3 separate regions of the Homo sapiens genome follow, and all the other regions are linked to region 3. Evidence: promoter capture Hi-C in 16 types of primary human blood cells and fetal thymus (Javierre and others, 2016). All regions are on one chromosome and are shown on one strand. Each heading gives the region's core, a stretch centred on a gene start or on the middle of the fragment in contact. The rest is flanking DNA. Distances are from core to core; before and after follow the strand shown. Region 1 holds the start of CENPC (centromere protein C). Region 2 holds the start of UBA6 (ubiquitin like modifier activating enzyme 6). Region 3 holds the start of ANKRD17 (ankyrin repeat domain 17).

Evidence for each region. Contacts are between HindIII fragments. The CHiCAGO score rates a contact against its expected background, and 5 or more counts as called.
Region 1: a contact is called between the fragment with the promoter of CENPC here and the fragment with the promoter of ANKRD17 in region 3, in 1 of 17 cell types (naive CD4 T cells). The highest score is 5.5, in naive CD4 T cells.
Region 2: a contact is called between the fragment with the promoter of UBA6 here and the fragment with the promoter of ANKRD17 in region 3, in 4 of 17 cell types (total CD4 T cells, non-activated CD4 T cells, total CD8 T cells and 1 more). The highest score is 11.0, in total CD4 T cells.

Annotation. Positions count from the first base shown.
Region 1 is chr4:67,543,296-67,547,279 of GRCh38, reverse strand. It overlaps CENPC (centromere protein C), which reads left to right and starts at 1,777. Exons shown (of 19, transcript NM_001812.4): 1 at 1,777-1,942; 2 at 3,085-3,131. The coding sequence starts at 1,925. RefSeq lists a silencer at 1,493-1,632 and enhancers at 1,455-2,005, 1,783-2,022. The HindIII fragment of the contact is 5,245 bases long and covers 1-2,888 here.
Region 2 is chr4:67,699,655-67,704,003 of GRCh38, reverse strand. UBA6 (ubiquitin like modifier activating enzyme 6) reads left to right here and starts at 2,849. Exons shown (of 33, transcript NM_018227.6): 1 at 2,849-2,955. The coding sequence starts at 2,885. UBA6-DT (UBA6 divergent transcript) reads right to left here and starts at 2,726. Exons shown (of 2, transcript NR_015439.1): 1 at 2,520-2,726. RefSeq lists silencers at 2,756-2,825, 2,956-3,125. The HindIII fragment of the contact is 4,018 bases long and covers 1,915-4,349 here.
Region 3 is chr4:73,256,727-73,260,890 of GRCh38, reverse strand. It overlaps ANKRD17 (ankyrin repeat domain 17), which reads left to right and starts at 2,093. Exons shown (of 34, transcript NM_032217.5): 1 at 2,093-2,615. The coding sequence starts at 2,223. ANKRD17-DT (ANKRD17 divergent transcript) reads right to left here and starts at 1,725. Exons shown (of 5, transcript NR_187399.1): 1 at 1,483-1,725. RefSeq lists enhancers at 1,572-1,841, 1,444-2,040 and a silencer at 2,002-2,401. The HindIII fragment of the contact is 8,436 bases long and covers 1-4,164 here.

The sequences.
Region 1 (3,984 bases), core at 528-3,027, 5.7 Mb after region 3:
TAAGTACTACAACAAGTACATATGGAAGTAAAACGTTTCTCTGGAAACTGTGGAGTCTCCACAACTGTTTTTATAAGAGTACTGCTCTATTTTCTTTAGAACAGTTAATCCTCAACGCCCTCTGTGGCCTGCTTTCTGCAGCAGCACAAGCCATTGCATTCCAAATTTCTCAAAATAAGTGTGGGACTTAGTTTCCAGTGGAAGCAGGAGGATATAATTTTACATGTGGGACTTTACATCTATAATCGTGCTTGCTAAAATTTCTTACCCAGAGGCAAAGAGTGTAGTGATTAAGAGCTCAGTTGTGGAGTGAGAATTCTTGGGATAATAACCCATCCTACCATTTAGTGGTGATGTGATCTTGGGTAAGACACTTAGCTCTCTGTGTTTCAGTGCCCTTGTTTATAAAACAGGAATATTAATTGTTCTCTTCAATGCATGCAAAGCATTTCAGAACTGGGCATAGAGTATGCAGTCAATAAATGTTAGTGTTTATCATTATCTATTCCAAATGTGACAGCACCAAATTATAAGTTGGACTGATTGGCAAAACTGCCAAACATAGTAAAAAACTCTCCATAATGATTCCAATAGCTTTATTATTGAATTCTTACTATGTTCCAAACATTGTGCTTAGATCTTAACAGGAATTATTCAATTACAACATCTCAACCACTTTAATAGTATTCTCATTTTGCAGACAAGAGAATTAAGGAACAGATAACTTAGTTGCCCATAATGGCAGAATTAATGGAATGGAGTGCAATCCAGGCCTAATTTCAGTCAGAGATCATAGTTCCTTTTTTTCTATCAAAAAAATAAATAAAATAAAAAAATTGGCCTTCATAGTTGACAGCATTTGTTAAAGCACTACATGTTTTAAAAATCTATTAGCTCAACTCCTGATTAATGTATTTATTCAATTAGTAAACTATTTTCTGATTAGAATTTTCTTGTAATTTTAAATTAAATAATAAAATAAGATACAGCTTCATAGAATCATACACTGGTCAGGTGAGAAGTCTTCAGAGCGTCTAATTTAGACTTCCATTCTATCACTATGGAAACACCCAGAATGGTGCCGCAATTTTGCCCTCCATAACATAGCTAGTCAATGGCTGGCAGGTTTCAGGATTCTGTATAGAATTCTTTTCAGTGCATCATACTTAAATGATAGATATTTACGTGGGTCATTTGTTGGCAATGCATCATAAAAATATCGCCCACATACTTGAAAAAGAATACAAGCCATCATCACCATTATTATACATAATTATTCAATTATTTTCAGAGATGATGGTTAGATGGGCTGGGCGTGGCTGACGAATCTGCATTAGAAAAATCTCTTCAAAAAAAGATTCTATTAAAAAAAAAGTCGTCTGCAATTTCTACCTCTCATCCTTCCAAGTATTACTTATTATTCCTTAATAGAACTGTTGAGAAGTTTTACATTGGGCACAAGGAGCGGTTCCCAGGATCGTGCCTTCCTAATAAAAGCCCAGTCTCGCGCCTGTCCCGGGCGCGGCGCTGAGGAAGGGAGGTGGGAAGAGCAGAGCGGCTAGAGGTAGGGCGGGCGGGTGGGTCTGCAGGCTGGAGGGCCGTTGGCCTGGAGCATGAAGGGGCGAGCCCACTAACGGCTTGCTTCCTATTGGACGGCGCGGCCCGTTTTGCGCATGTGTCTCCGGGTTCAAACCCAGGCACAGGCCAAGCGTTCTTGTTTGTTGAGGGCGGAGCCAATGGCGGGGGAGTGTTGTTAGCGCGCGCCTTCCGGATCGCAGCTCTCGCGGCAGTCGCCTGAGACTTAAGGTTATTGCTTGGCCGCGGCCTGGTATTCCGGCGATTCGTTTCTTGCTCGGCTTCCTGGAGCTGTGGTCCGTGTGGGCTTCCACCTCAGACAGTTGCGCTGGCTCAGCGGGGCCGGAACATGGCTGCGTCCGGTCTGGTAAGTGCAGGCCCCCCGCTCCAGGCGAGTGGTTGAGCGGCTGGCTGGGGCACGGGCGCCCGAGGCTGGGGAGAAGGAAATGCTAGGCTGAGGCTGTGATCTCTGAGGGATTTCAGTGGGAAAGCCGCAGGAATTTTTGAAATCAAGTGTGATCGTGTGTCGATAACCAGAGTTAATTTACTGTACTTTTATTATTTCTTAAGTTTTCATGTCGTCATTTCGTCTGTGCCTACGTCTTACTCTTGAGAGGTGCTTGTGATTTCTGCTGGGTTTTTTTTTGTTTTTGTTTTTGAGACGGGGTCTTGCTCTGTCCCCCAGGCTGGAGTGCAGTGGCGCGATCTTGGCTTCTGCTTTTTAGTCTAGCTCCAGTTCCTAGGCCTCCAAATAACTTTTCTCCCCATGGTAGAAGTATTGAAACGCCTTAAAAGTGTGTCTTTGCGTCACACTTGGTAGTTGGGAGAAACAGATTATGTAACAAGTACGTCTCGAAATAATTTGACGTTTTCAGTTCTTCTGTCAAAATGGTGGCCTTTTATGCAGTTCTTGAGGCTGATTTATGGAGCATATGTTATTGACAAACTCTTCTGAAAGACAGCTATCAGTTAAAAGGTACAAGCTGTGAATGACTAATGGGGGCGACAACTCATTTTGTTTACATATTTCTGGACTTCTTTGGTGTTCACTATTCTATATTTCATACTTTGGTTATGGTTACTATATAAAAATCCGTATCATTTCTTTTCTAATTTATCTCCCCTTCTAAGAAAATCTTCAGCTTCGATGATCTCCCATTATGTGACGTTATACATATAAACATAAAGAGTTGTATGAAAGAATAATATAATCTATACTTTTTACTATGAGCACATATATTGTTTACATTATATATAATCAGAAGAAAGCAATAAAGCCATTCTCACTGTGGGGAGAGAAGCGGAATAAAGCTTACCAGATGCCTGCAGTTCAGTTTTTAAATGCCTGTCATAACCTATGTTATGTCATAACATAACCTCAAAATTGTTTTGAGCCCTTAGGAGATGTTTGGTGTATAGCATGCCCATACTGGATGAAGTTACTTTGAAAATAAATTTTACTCGACTCTATCTTAAAGAAACCAAATTGATGATTTACTTTTCTTTCAGGATCATCTCAAAAATGGCTACAGAAGAAGATTTTGTCGACCTTCCAGGTGATTTACGTACTTAAGCTTTTAAGATTATTTTTATTCTCATCGTTAATAGATTTTTAAATGAAGAAAGGAAAAACTATCACCTCTGACTAATATAATGATTTCTGTGCCCACTGATTAAGGGTAGTCATCTTATACTAACGGGAATGTTAATGCAAGCAGTGCAATGACTTTGTGGCTGTGAAAAAAGAAATTCACCTGATAAAATAGTGGAACCAGGAAGAGGGAGTCTCAGTTCTGACTAAGTGACTGCCATGGGAAAAGCATTTTGTAGAATGAATCAAATGGTAAAATTAGAAAGATGTAGCTTATTCAGTGGGGCAAAAAGAAAAATAGTACATGCTGTCGTGCATTTGTTGAGTGCTTGTTTGGGTTGTTTTGGTTCTTCTTTTAGTTGTAAAACCTGTAAAAAGTAAATTTTCTAGTTAAATATTTACTAGTAATAGGATGAAAAGCATGTTTTTAAAAGTGAAGATGTTATTATGAATAACGTCATGTTTATTGAGCTGTGATTTTAGTAGGTCCAATGGGGCACAGAAGTATGTTCTTTTGTTTACAAGAAGCTTAGATTTCTGTTGGGAAAATGTATATGTACATTTGTGAAACAATTTAATGGACAAAAATTATTACTTGCAATACTGAAGTAATGACTTGTGTATCATAGAGAGTAGGCCTATATATAATTAGGCATTAACTTGCAGTATAGACAGCCATGTGAGAAATTAGGGATTTGTGTGTTGTTGATATTAAGAAAAGCTTTAAAGTTGTAGTGTAACTTTGGTGGACCTTGAACAGGTATTTAAAGACTAAGATAAAGTATATTCCAGACATAGAAAGTAACTTAACGAAGGAA
Region 2 (4,349 bases), core at 1,600-4,099, 5.6 Mb after region 3:
TCCCCACCCAAATCTCACTTCAAATTTTAATTCCCATGTGTGCAAGGAGAGACCTGGTGGGAGGTGATTAGATTATGGGGGCAGTTCCCCCATGCTATTCTTGTGATAATGAGGGAGTTCTCATGAGATCTGATGGTTTTAAAAGTGGCAGTTTTCCCACGATCTCACTTCTCTCCTGCCACCGTGTAAGATATGTCTTGCTTCTCCTTCACCTTCTGCTATGATTTAAGTTTCCTGAGGACTCCCCAGCCATGTGGAACTGTGAGTCAACTAAATCTCTTTCCTTTATAAATTACCCAGTCTCGGGTATTTCTTTATAGCAGTGTGAAAACAGACTAATATACCTGACTTTCTTGGAATACAGTTTTGTTCCTGATAAACTTAGGCTTATTGGGCTAAGAAGCCTGTCTCATATTAGTTCAGGAACACCAATTTCACATAAAAATGAGCAATAACTCACGCCTGTAATCCCAGCACTTTGGGAGGCCAAGGGGTGGATCACGAGGTCAGGAGATCGAGACCATCCTGGCTAACACGGTGAAACCCCGTCTCTACTAAAAATACAAAAAATTAGCCGGGCGTGGTGGCAGGTGCCTGTAGTTCCAGCTACTCGGGAGGCTGAGGCAGGAGAATGGCGTGAATCCGGGAGGCAGAACTTGCAGTGAGCCAAGATCCCGCCACTGCACTCCAACCTGGGCAACAGAGCAAGGCTCTGTCTCAAAAAAAAAAAAAAAAAAAAAAAAAAAAGAGCAACAAAAAAAGCATCAAGTTCAAATCCATGCAGTTATTATGTGAAGAGAATAAGGAATATAACATCATCATCAAAGATAATAAAAACATGCCTGAAAGATGCACTACAAAACAATTTATTATTTTGAAACTAGCTAAATGACATTAGAGAAATGATAAAAGATATGGAAGAACTTGATTCTGAATTAGAAAAACCTCAGAAATGAGGTGACAGAACTCAGGAGAATTAGTAATAAAGAATAAACTACAAGAAACACAAAAGCTAATAAATGCAACAGATTATGATTTGCTGTAAAGAAACCGAGTCAATCCTTAGATCAATGTTTCTGTAATAATTCTGATTGTCAGACACTTTCTCCAATTAATTATTAAGGAGGGGCTCATGAAAACACTAGTCTCACCAAATTGATATATCAATTGTTGATAACAGTTTGTACCTTTTGTATATTAGTTTTGCTGAATGTAAAATCTTTGGCCTACATATTTTTCCCTTAAGTTTCCTCAATATGTCATTCTACTTTCTTATGACATAAAGCCTCACTGTCAAAAAGCTGTGATCGCCTAGTTTTCTTTCCCATTTTACATATGTGACAAAACATTAAAATCTGTTAAATCTGGTTGCTTGTTACATGCCTGAAATAATTCACACCATATTTTATCAAATCTAACATGCCCTCAATTTTAAGATGCATCGTTTTCTGTATTTATTTTTTAAAAATTCATCCTCTATTCATGGATGTTAAAATATGAAGAAGCGTGGGTAATGGCAGGCCATTGTTTTGGCCTAGCCTTCTACACTAGGCCCCATCAGATCAAACCAGAATGGAGTTGCTTGTGCTAAGCACCATGTAATTAAAGTGGATTTTGAAAAAATGAGCCAGTTTTTTTTAAAAAAACAGGAGATTCTAGTTAACCTAGTGGGCATAATAAGGAAGTATGCTCTGTTTTAACCTTTACAAGGAAAGAAACTTTGAAATAATCTGATTTTTGTTCTGTTTCTGCTTTCTTCAATCTTTTTCATTATCTTCAGTCCTGTAGCATTATCTTAGTGCTAGAGCAGAGCCTTGAAAGAATAGAACACAGATCAAGAACATTTTAATGTGGAAAAGGTTCACAACTGGATTGAGGAACACGGATAATGCTATAGGTGAGCAACATAAAGCTTCCAGGTATTTTAAGATGTGCAATTTTGAAGAGAATAGAGGGCACGAAGGATAATACAGTTTTGCCTGGACCCTCATCTCCATATGAGAGGAAAAATTTCTAATTAAAAATATGATACATCACAGAAAATTACATAATACCCAAAGTATATGCTAATTTTAAAAATCCTGCAGATGTTTATTCAAATATACAGTGTTATTTAGTGAAAGACAAATCCTAATGTTATTGTGTCCAACTCATTTTTGCTTTCTAAGAAAGGTGACACGGAAGTAAATGAAAAAGAATTATATGAGAACTTTTTAGATATGTGTTCTGGTAATCTAACAGTGACTAGCTCTATAACCTTGACCAAGTCACTTGCACTGACCGGAAGTTCCTTTCCCTTACCCACAAATTTAAGGGACCAAACTGGATGATCTAACGACATCTATGGCACTAAAAGTCACATGATTCTATTAAATCTGAGGCAGCGCCTCACATGTAGTGGACTCCCAAAATTATTTATTAAATGTATAACATCTTTAAGTGGTATCCCCTCACTGACAATCTGGAGCTATTAGCAGCCTTCAGTTTATTTATAAAATAAAGCTGTTTCCTCTTCTTACCGTTAAGACTCTTTTAAGGATTTGCAACGCTATCCCATCATTTCGCGGGTTACTAGAGTCCTGCATGTTTGGCTGTAGAGCAAGGGTGACGCGTAACTTCTGGACTTTGGTTCCATCTACATCTGCCGGATGCGGATGCCAGTCGCAACAGTAACGCCCCCTTCGGCCACCTGCACCACAGCACGCCATGCGGCCACACCCAAACCGGAAACCAGGACGCCCCTAGGGTTGACGGGAAGGCGCTGCCGGGCTCCTAGCTTCCCCAGGCCCGCCCCCTCTGATGACGTCTCCGCCCGCCCCTTGACCCCCCCACGGTCCCGCCCCTTCCTACCTTCCAGTAGCCGGCGGCGGTGTCTCAGGCGGCAATGGAAGGATCCGAGCCTGTGGCCGCCCATCAGGGGGAAGAGGCGTCCTGTTCTTCCTGGGGGACTGGCAGGTGAGAGGACGAGAAGGGCGAAGGTGAGGGGTCGCGGGTGGGACCCAGGCTCCGGGTTTCTGCTTCTTTCTTTCCGGCGGGCTGGGGGCGCCCGAGAGGCCGCGGGGCCGAGCAGAGCCGGCCCTGGGAGGCGAGGGGCGCGCGCGGAGTGGGTGTGGCGACGTGGGCTAGGGCCTCTGCTGTTGCCGGCTTTCCTGAGGGAAAAGTCCCCTTTCCGCACCTTTGAGGGCTTTCTCAGTTCTGGCTGGGATTCGGGATCCTCCTTCCTCCAAGTCACCAGACTTGGGGGGCTCCGGTCGAGAGCGAGTTCTGGTCTCGGTCACTTGGCGTGAGCTTCCCCGACTGGTGCCAAGCACCTTTCCTCCTTTCCGTAAAAAGAAAGCTAGGAGCGCCACTGTGCACCTCCACTGAGATCCTCTTTTGAAAACTATTACCAGAAGGAACTTGGTAAGAATGAATCAGTAGCAATCTGGACACCCTGAGGCCTTTGTTGACTTCGGAAGAAGGAAAAAAAAAAAGCCAGGAAAAAAAAATACACAAGTTACCCATTCTTATTTCCCACTTGGTTTTGAAGTTCTTCAGGTCTTTCCCGCCCCTGTAAAATTAGGGGGAAAATATTTGTGCTAGGCCTTTACCAATTTCTTGGTTAGTAGTTCCTCTTTCAATCATCTCATAATTAATAAAGCAAGTGGTTACATTCTATCCACCACTGTCAGAATACACCATGCCAAAGATAGAATTGATGGATGTATTATTTTCAGCTGATGTGAGACTTTGTAAACCTGTAGCCTTTTCGCCAGTTTCAGACTGAAGGGATGCTTTCAGTTTCATGGTGTTGTCTGCCATTGCCAACACTGCCAGAGTGGAGGGATATTATGTAATATAACCCGCGCCTTATTTGAAGCGTTTTTGATTGTCTTATAGATCATATTATTTTTACATATTTTTGAAACATTCCAGTGAGGCACAACTTTCTGAAAAGGGCCAGTCACGCCATTAAGTGGCAGAGCTAGTTAGACTGCAGCTGTTCTCGTTTTTATTCAGATTTACCCACCAGGCCTATTGCCCCCGCCATGCAAGGAAAACAGCAAGTGAAAGTGTACTAGGGATAAAATGATAGGAAAGTAGATAATAAAAAACTTTGGCCGGGCGCAGTGGCTCAAACGCTTGCAATCCCAGCGCTTTGGGAGGTCGAAGCAGGCGGGTCGCTTGAGCTCAGGAGTTCTTAGACTAGCCTGGGCAACATGGCGAAACCGCGTCTCTACAAAATACAAAAAAATTAGCTGGGCGTAGGTGATGCACGCCTGTAGTCCCAGCTACTCGGGAGGCTAAGATGAGAGGATCGCTTGAGTCTAGAGAGATCGAGGCTGCAGTGAGCCGAGATCGTGCCACTG
Region 3 (4,164 bases), core at 844-3,343:
CTGACAAGTCAATTTCAGAAAACAAAAAAGACACTGATTGTAGACACTTTTTTTTTGAGATGGAGTCTCGCTCTGTCGCCCAAGCTAGAGTGCAGTAGCAGGATCTCAGCTCACTGCAAACTCCGCCTCGCAGGTTCAAGCGATTCTCCTGCTTCAGCCTCCTGAGTATAGAATACTTTTTAAAGAAAGAAAGTTTGCTTGTGAAGGAAATAATTGAAAGCTACAGAAGAATTAGCTAAGGAACCAGAATTTGTAGAAGGTTGACAACAGAAAAGATAATAAATGCATGAGAAAGAGGGGTATTGGAACTAGAATATGTATGAAGAGTTTATCTCATATATGAACAGGGAGTCTCTCATTCGTTGATACTGGAGAAAAGGCAATCTCAGGAAATTTCTAGCACTTGGAAAATTGTGAAGTCTAAGTTAAAAGTCATATAATAAAATGGGCTGGGATTTAAAGATTGCGAAAAGTATTCAAGTGGAAAGGGAGAAAAAGATGCTGAAGAATATACAAAGTAGGAGGGAGGGATGCAGCTGAAATTATAAAATCTAAATCAGTAGTGGTGAGATACACAATGCAGTGCTCTGTTCTACACTGGAACTCAGCAACGACTGTAGGAGAGGAATAGGCAGATGGTTACCACTCCGTATATATATTTACTATAGCACTTATTACACTGTAAAGCCCCTGGAAACAAGAGACTTTGATTCCACAAATTATGCGCACAGTAGGCACATGATGAATTTTTGTTTGAATGAATTGATTTAGTCATTGCCAATTCTGCCTTGGTACTCTGTAGAGTACTGGCAACTGCCCACATTTCATATGGTATGCCAATGCTAAAAAGAAAAAAAATGCTAAAAAAAAAAAAAATCCAGGCATATTCAGCTAAACTAAGCAGTCTTAAAATGGCAACTATGTCAGCTGAGACATACTTTTAATCTTGTGCCAGTACATCTGTCTTTGATGTTTGCTTCATTTTCCGTATGCCACTATACTCCTACTAGACCAGAAAGGGATAATTCTGAGTTCAATGGGCTCCACTATCATTTCAAAAGTCCTGAAACTTCTTCAGACACCTAAAAATGAACCCACAACTCCCATAACAGCATTCCTTCCGAGAGAAGTATACAGACAACAATCACTATTTATGCTTGCTTCCAAGCTGAATCGAAGAGGGCCGGAAGAGCTAAATCAGGGTCATTCAGTGAATCGTCTACAAAGTCTGGCACAGACCACGCATCCTTCCCGTGTCTTCCTCCCCTTGGAAACTTGAGGTGTAAGTAATGATCTTAGACATCTCCTAATCGACTGCCTTCATATTACACACGTGTAAACTCAGGTAGAGGATGTCTATGAGCCGAGCTTAAACTCAGGTAAAGAAGGCTCTTTTCCCAACACGACGCCATCTCTCATGATCCAAAGCTCTATCTCTCGATTTGGCGGTGGAAAAAAATGACCAGGAATAAAACTACGTACAGCAGTCCAGAACGAGGCCCCACCTCCCGGATCTGGCGGACCGGCCTCCCGTCAGCAAAGTGTCTGGACCGCGCTTCCGCACCTCACACTGCCCGGGGCCGGCTCCTCTCCAGCCTCCCCGTACTCCCCACACGCCGCAGCACTGCGCGCCCGCGGGGCCCCAGACCCGGCCCTTGAAATCTCACTTTCGCCTTTCGGCCACCCGCGCGCCACGGCTCAGGCGACGGCTGATGGCGTCACTGCACTTCCGCCTGCGGCTGCGTTCTAATCACAAGCCAGGAAGGAAGAAGGGAGGGCTGCAGGGCTGTGTGTGCGGGAAATAGCGAGGAAAGAGAAGAAATCCGGGAGCTCGCGGGCGCTCTGGTTGCAATCGCGCCCCCCTCATCTGTCCCCGCCGTTCCCCTTCGGAAGCTGCCCCAGGCACACTTCCCCGCTTCTTTCCAGTCTCCTCTCCTCTGGTTCTCCCGACACCCGGTCTCCCTGTTACGCCTCACCCTCCTTCCCTTGCTCCCTCCCTCTCCCTCCCTCCCTCCCTCCCATCGTCAGGCTCCCCGCCCTTAGTATCGCGAGACGAGGTGAGAGCTGGCGGAGCGGCGGCGGCGGCGGCGGCAGTAGAGGTGACCGAGGCGGTGGCGGCGGAGGCGGCACCGATTGCTGTGTCGGCCCCAGTGCGGCCGAAGTCGCGGTAGAGCGTAGCCCCACGCCCCTCCCCCGTCCGCGCCCTCCCTCTTTCCCTGGGGATGGAGAAGGCGACGGTTCCGGTGGCGGCGGCGACGGCTGCAGAAGGAGAAGGGAGCCCCCCGGCGGTGGCGGCTGTGGCGGGCCCCCCCGCGGCGGCGGAGGTCGGCGGCGGCGTTGGCGGCAGCAGCAGAGCTCGCTCGGCCTCGTCTCCTCGTGGGATGGTGCGAGTCTGCGACCTGCTCCTGAAGAAGAAGCCGCCGCAGCAGCAGCACCACAAGGCCAAGCGTAACCGGACTTGCCGACCCCCCAGCAGCAGCGAAAGCAGCAGCGACAGCGACAACAGCGGCGGCGGTGGAGGCGGCGGTGGAGGCGGAGGTGGCGGCGGCGGCACCAGCAGTAACAACAGCGAGGAAGAAGAGGACGACGACGACGAGGAAGAGGAGGTTTCTGAGGCAAGGGCCTGGTTTCAAAGGAAGGAGGGAGGAAGGGACTGTAAGGGATAGGGGCCGAAGGTGGGAGGGGATTTGGAGTGGGACAGATTCCAGTGGGTTGATCTCTTAGGGGCCAGGCTTTCGACTGCCCCCTTTCTTCCCTCGGCCTAAATCGTGAGGTGTGGGAATGTGGGGGAGGGTAGCTGACACGTGGGGGTGGGAGGACCACGGAGTTCACAGAGTTGGTGAACAGCCTGTTATCATGGGATGGCTCACTTGGTTAAGGATGGAGGGAATTGGTTAGATTCCCTGTTTGCACGCCGGGGGGTGGGGGGGTGGTCTGCCTGGGGCCAGTAGGGCCACCTTAGTCTGAGGCGGGATCGGGATCAAAGCGGGAGGAGTAAAATAATGGGTAAATGAGTCTCTTGGGGACCAACTAGGAGGTTGATCAACTTCTCCCAGTTGTGAGGTGGAGGGGAGCAGTTTGAGGGGGGACGTAAGGTTGTAATGGACTCAGAGCTAAGTGTTTGTGTATGTGAGGGACACGTGAGAAGCTGTACTTTTCCATACTGTTCTGCAGGGTTTTTCGTAACTATCCTGGCTGCTGAAGTAACTTCATTTCCTCGATCTCCCAGGGATTTTCGATGAACTGATGCTGTATTTGTATAAATTTATCAGTAACTTTAAATAATTACAAATGACCATATACATTTGTAAGTGGATGAAAAATATATTTGATCCTTACACGTACATACATACATGCCTTCGAATGTTTCCTTAGTGAGTTAGAATTAAGCTAGGACCTGTTGTCCCGTAATATGGGACAGCCAAAGGGTAGGCTTTGGAGCCAGGCCTGGTTGTGGTGAGTTGGAATAGGAAGGCCTCTCGGTTTGTCCTAGTGATCTGGTTTCATAATAACTTTATAATTTTTCCTGGGTCCACAGACAGGCGGCGTTGCAGGACCTTATTCCTCACAGAAGCCCTTACAACCCAAAGGCTCAGTAAAACATACCATACTGACAACCAACTGAGAGTTAGCTTTACTAGTTATTAGCTGTTTTACCACTCTCTTGTCTCCTTCCTGAAATAGAATCTAGAAAAATCTTTATTTGGAGAGGGAAATCTTTATCAGCAGAGGGAAAACAGCTTTAAAGGCTGATTTTAAACTTAGTTCTAAGAGGAGACCAAGTGATTCATCTAAAAGTACCACTTACTATTTATTCTCTTCCACAAACATGGAACTTATTTTGATGCAAGTCTGGTTTTCCGAAAATTGGAATTATTGAATCCTGGTCTCTGTTGAAATAGAGAAGTACCTTTTAAAGGATTTGACACATGTCTATTTGTAGAAGACCAGATTCTCTTTTATCTCAGACTGGATGAAGTTGTATAGGTAGAGATATTAAGTGCTGAAGTATGTATGACAAAAATATGCCAGTCCTTGTTTTTATTCCCTTTTAGCCTGTTGGATTCTGAGAATAGGTTTGTATTGATAGACTTATATTGGCCTACTTGGATGTTTAGGATAGTGTGTTGCTCTGGCGGCATTTGAAACAAGGAAGAGAAAGAT